Linked DNA regions of Homo sapiens: region 2 is linked to region 1. Evidence: promoter capture Hi-C in 16 types of primary human blood cells and fetal thymus (Javierre and others, 2016). All regions are on one chromosome and are shown on one strand. The core of a region is centred on a gene start or on the middle of the fragment in contact, and the rest is flanking DNA. Distances in the headings are between cores, read along the strand shown. Region 1 holds the start of CACNA2D1-AS1 (CACNA2D1 antisense RNA 1). Region 2 has its middle 290 kb from the start of CACNA2D1.

Region 1 (2,942 bases), core at 253-2,752:
AGCCCTAGCTTAAAATTACTGTCCAGTGTTCCTTTTAGACATCACATATTTACTTAAGGTCACATAGTGATCCAAAGCTGTGGTCAAAATGTTGCACTTTTCAAATCCATCACAGGACAGTGTATGATAGGAGGAGTCAATAATTATGCCCTGTTGTGTTTCCTTTGACTGGAAGTTCATTAGCCAGCATGTCTGCATTGCTGGTAAGGTTCTTACTGATAGCACAAATGACATTAGGAGGAAATGTTGGTTCTAAATGTGCTGTGCTATAAGCTGAAACTGAATGTAAAAAAAAAAAAAAAAGGAACACGTGAATTTGCTATTCATTGGACACATATAGCGTTATTTTTACTGTTTTGAAGATGATAAAGTGATCCTCATATATTCCTAGTTATTTGTTTATAATCTCTCCACACAGCAGATTAAAAATATATGTTGGTCAAAAATAAACAGTTATATTAAAAAGGAAAAGGTAAATATATTTCAAAACGAAATATAATGGATATAATGAGAAAAAGAATTCTGACTTCAAAATGAAGCCAATATTGGGGGCAAAGTGGGTTGTGGTTAAGAAAATGGAGACATTTTAGCTGATATTAGTGTAAGATTTTTGCAATTGGTGGTGAAAAGTGAAACCATAAAAATGGGGTATAGCATAAAAGTTGGGGAAGCACTGAGTATATCAAAAAAATGATACCTTGGTCATTTTTGGTAATAAGGGGAGATTAGGACAATATTGTGGAGAGTTCATTTTAATTAGGAGACAAAGTGAAGCTCTTTATAAAAAGAGATATGACAAGAGTTGGGCTCTAGAAAATATTTTTAAAATTCCAGGGTAGAGAAATCTTGTTTTATTTCTCTCTTATTTTCTAGAGACATGTGCAGTACTCAGGAGTAGAGTACAAGTTTTTGGTCTGCTTAGTAAATGAGAAAAAAATTCAAGTTGGGCCCAAATGAGTTCATTCATAATTATCTTTAATATGTTAGTAATCTAGTAACTCACTTTAGGCTACATTTTACCATTTTTAGAAGCAAATTATGGTATGCAGTATAAATGCAAAAGTAATGCAAAGGAAATGATTACATCCATATCTACCTTGTCTTAAACCATGGTAGCATTTTTAAAACCATGCATATAGATTATAGCTCTAACAGACACTTCACCAAATCCTTACTAAATTATCTTTTGGATACCAGTTTTACGAATTAATCTATAGCCTGACTTTATTGAGGTGGGAGGTTTTCATTGGAAGCATTAATTTATATAATTAAGGATGTTTCATTGTCTAATGTTCTTGGTTAGGACTTTATAAGCGCCAACATGTGTCTATCACTGTATGAGTCTGTTCTCACACTGCTGTGAAGAAATCCCCAAGACTGAGTACTTTATAAAGAAAAAAGGTTTAATTGACTCACAGTTCCATGTGGCTGGGGAGGCCTCAGGAAACTTAAAATCATGGCGGAAAGCATCTCTTCGCCAGGCAGCAGGAGAGAGAATAAGTGTTGAGCGAAGGGGAAAGCCACTTAAAAACCATCAGACCTCGTGAGAAATTACTCACTATCACGAGAATAACATGGGGGAAACCGTACCATGGTTCAATTACCTCTGGATCTCTCCCACAACACGTGGGGATTATGGGAACTACAACTGAAGATGAGATTTGTGTGGGAACACAGCCAAACCATATCAATCATCATGCACCCAAATATGTATGGTTGTTTCCTTAGTTTTATTTGCTGCAAATAATTTGGTATTTTGGTCTTCTGGAAGCTTCTCTATTATTGTCTCTCCTCCCTAATTCATTCATATTCCCATTGAATTTGGGCCTCCTATGTGCACAATTATGAACCACAACCTGATACCACAACATTTGCTCCCTGATATTAATAAATATTTTTAATGTTCTAGTGAATAATTATTCCAAATCCAACTTTATGAACTCGGTTCTGATTCCAGAACTCTGTTCTGAGTTCTTGAGATTTGGATTTGGAATCACTATTCGTGAGAAGATTAATAATAATTTCTCATTTAGCAAATTCAAAATTTCAAACAATAAAAATTATTTTAAAGAGTGATTTTGTTAAATGTAGTTTTGACATGAAATGGTTAAAATTATAATGGATATAGATGTCAGTAACAAAAGCAAACTCTGACTTGAAAATCAGTTTATTTTGACTAATCTGTATGGATTCATTTAATGTATTAAATTATGTGCTGATTAATAGGATGGCATTAGTTCTACTATGTTAAACTCTTCAGACTAGACTTTTATATTTGATGCTTGCAGTTGTCTTTTCTTCATAATTTTACTTGTCAAAAAGTACTGCTTATTTTGGGGTCTACTTAGAAAAGTAGTACTGCTTCTGAAGAGCGTAACATTTACTTAGAATATCCCAGATATGCAGTATCAATAGAATGTTTCTTTTATTTATCATGTTATTCAACTGCACATTTTTCATTTAGCATGAAGTCTTTGGCTTAGGGCATAAAAAATAAAGAATAAGGCTACAAAAAGGGAAGCTAAATAATCACTTAAAATAATATTTTATTATCACTCTGCTTATGGAGGCCCTGATATTAGGTGAACTATCACTATGAAAAAGGGGGAGGACACAGGGTTACTGAAATGCATACAGGCTGTTGACTATTTGTGTAAGCTGATTATTTTTGAAGTTATCTTAGAGGATTATTTTAAATGTTGCATGCTTCAGTAGGTGCCTAGTAGGTCCTAATTATTTCCAAGATATTTTCCTTGATATTTTAAAAATAAATTTTAATAGATATTCAAAATGAGTTACTAGTTTTTGTGGCTCTTTATAAAGTAACTATAAAATGCAATCTCAGATATCAAAGGTTAGTGCACTCTGACAAAGCTTAAATTGTAATTTTAATTTGCCCTTTCTCTCTGAATCTATTTTTAGGAACTGGGACTTGTCATTAC
Region 2 (2,942 bases), core at 330-2,829, 720 kb before region 1:
ACAACAGACCAAATAACTGTCTCCTGGGGACATCTGAATCAACATGACCCAACAGTGTCCATTATGCCATTCCTATTACATTTGGTAAGAACCCTACTGCTGCGTATTTTGTCTCCTCAAGCTTAGTGTGTTTATGTTTTGCAGTGGAAGAACAAGATGACTATCTCCGATTTTATCCCTATAACTAGAAAGTTAGTCCCTAATCAAACTAATAACACAAGTTTTCTTTGATTCTTTAGACTGAATCTGACCTTTTAGTTTTTCCTACCATTCAATATTTTTCCTACATAGTATTTATTACAGTTGATCATTCTATAGTAATATAATTATTAATGTCTCTCACCCAATCAGCCTGTAAACCCTGTGAGGGCAGGATCAGGGCTCTTGCTCAACACGTATCTTCAACATCTATTACAGTACCAGGTGTGTATCTCAAAGTATAAGACATAAAAAATGAAGTAGCATAGACTTCATTCAAATATTACTGGCTTAGTCAAATTTTACTGAAAGTCAAATCCTTTTTACTCCTCTCTCCTTTCCTAAAGTAGAAAGGAAAGGAGGCCTATGGCCAAGGCCACTGTAGCTGGGAATGTGCTGGTCACACCTGAAACCAGTATGACACTAGATCTTGCCGAAGGCCCACGACAACTGCTGCCTGGCTGCTGTTGATGTTTATTCAAGGCCCAGGGGCTCTTTAATCAGCATATGATGGATCCTGACAGGACTGGGTTCTTTCCTTCAGGGCAGTGGGTTCTCTCCTGACCCAGGGTAAGTCTAGAAATTACATCCAGGAGCAACGTCCTGGAATGGGGGCCTGCTTGGTGCTTTATTTTACTTTGGCTGAACTGGTATCCAAGTTGCAAGACAAAGTCCTCTTTACTGTTTCCTCAAGGAGAATCACTTGAGGCCAGGAGTTCAAAACCAGTCTGGGCAACATAGTGAGACCCAACTCTACAAATTTTATTTAAAAATTAGCCAGGCATGGTGGCACATGCCTGTAGTCCCAGCTAATTGGGAGGCTGAGGCGCAAATCTGAAGTTAGCATAATATGATTGCACCATTGCACTCCAGTGTGGCAACAGAGTGAGACCCCGTCTCTAAAATAACTAAATATATAAGCCCTTTACTGTAGATGGCAGAAGATATGATGCATATATATCTGTAGGTGAGGGGTGGTATAAAAAGTTGTAGAACTACACATTTGCTGACTACAAGTTTCCCAAGGAAATAAAAGAGCTGAGAGAAGTGGAGAGTAATGGAGATTTCTGTAGGAGACAGGAACAGGGATATGAACAGAGTGTTGTTCTTTCAAAGCAATTGCCCAAAACGATGACTCACACTCATAATCCCAGCACATTGGGAGGCCAAGGTGGAAGGATTACTTGGGGCCAGGACTTCGAGACCAGCCTGATCGACATAGCTAGATCCTGTCTCTACAAAAAAATAAAATAAAATAAAACAATGCCCAAAAGAATGAAGGAAAGAATTGAGCGAAGCCAAATAAAAATTGACTAGTGATTCTGGGTCCCAATGATGTCACCAAAAGTTCATAAAATCTATGAAATTTACTTTTTTATTCATTCATTCATTCATTCAATAAAATTTACTATTTTATTCATTCATTTCCATTCATAAAAACTATGAACTTTTGGTGGCATCATTTCACATTTGTTTTCTGATTTTTTTTCTGTTGGTGTTTTAATAGTCAATTAGGTTTACAAGCTGAGAAGGCAGATTTGGGGAATGATTTATTGGTAGCACTTAGTAGATGGGTTACATAGAAGGATAATGAATTTGGAACTTGAAAATACTGATGGAGAACAGTTCCTATTACTGGCTATGATACTTTTCATTCTTAGAAGTAACCTCTCCCATCTCCAAAATCTCATAACAGTTTATATTATGTATTATAGTCATTCCAATGCTTGTTTTTGTATCATTATTCCATAAGCCCATTGAGGATCATAACTCTAGTGTACAATTGATCAATATGTGCAGATGCCTTGTTGTATTACAATATAAAAATTTGTAATAATCATTAATTATTAAATATTGTTGACTTTTTTTTAAATGGAGTCTCACTCTGTTGCCCAGGCTGGAGTGCTGTGGCACGATCTTGGCTCACTGCAACCTCCGACTCCCTGGTCCAAGCGATTCTTCTGCCTCAGTCTCCCGAGTAGCTGGGACTACAGGCACGTGCCACCACGCTCAGCTAATTTTTGTATTTTTAGTAGAGATGGGGTTTCACCATATTGGCCAGGATGGCCTCGATCTCTTGACCTCCGGTGATCCACCTGCCTCAGCCTCCCAAAGTGCTGGGATTACGGGTGTGAGCCACCGTGCCAGGCCCACAATAGCCAAAGATCTTTAATGTCCCTGTTTTGTTTAATCCTTCAACATTCTTTTATTTATTTATTTATTTATTTATTTATTTTGAGATGGAGTTTCGCTCTTGTTGCCCAAGCTGGAGTGCAATGGCGTGATCTCGGCTCACTGCAACATCTGTCTCCCAGGTTCAAGCGATTCTCCTGCCTCAGCCTCCTGAGTAGCTGGGATTACAGGCGACTGCCACCATGCCCAGCTAATTTTTGTATTTTAAGTTGAGACGAAGTTTCACCATGTTGGCCAGGCTGGTCTCGAGCTCCTGACCTCAGGTGATCCACCCCGCTCGGCCTCCCAAAGTGCTGGGATTACCGGTGTGAGCCACAGCACCCAGCCCAACATTCTATTTTTTAAAGACACATTTTTTAAAAACAGGAAAATTGTTACAAATTATATTAGTCTAAGCACTATCATAGTTCTCTAAGTTTAAAGAATTACCTATTAAGAAATGTTCCCCTTCTCCATGTGATTCAGGAGTAATTTCCTCCTAATTGCTAGCAAGGTGAAGTCTACTTGCTACTAAGGAAGCCATTATTGGTCTATATATTAATAGAGTGATA

What was found. The method cuts DNA at HindIII sites, captures the fragments that hold promoters and counts their contacts. A CHiCAGO score of 5 or more calls a contact.
Region 2: a fragment that was not itself captured here is called in contact with the fragment with the promoter of CACNA2D1-AS1 in region 1 in 1 of 17 cell types (M2 macrophages); the score reaches 5.4 in M2 macrophages.

The regions. Positions count from the first base shown.
Region 1 is chr7:82,007,737-82,010,678 of GRCh38, reverse strand. CACNA2D1-AS1 (CACNA2D1 antisense RNA 1) reads right to left here and starts at 1,502. Exons shown (of 4, transcript NR_110077.1): 1 at 1,417-1,502. It overlaps CACNA2D1 (calcium voltage-gated channel auxiliary subunit alpha2delta 1), which reads left to right. Exons shown (of 39, transcript NM_000722.4): 16 at 2,923-2,942. The HindIII fragment of the contact is 1,784 bases long and covers 1-1,773 here.
Region 2 is chr7:82,730,583-82,733,524 of GRCh38, reverse strand. No RefSeq gene overlaps it. Among named protein-coding and RNA genes, the nearest start is that of CACNA2D1, 290 kb to the right of the region's middle. The HindIII fragment of the contact is 2,912 bases long and covers 124-2,942 here.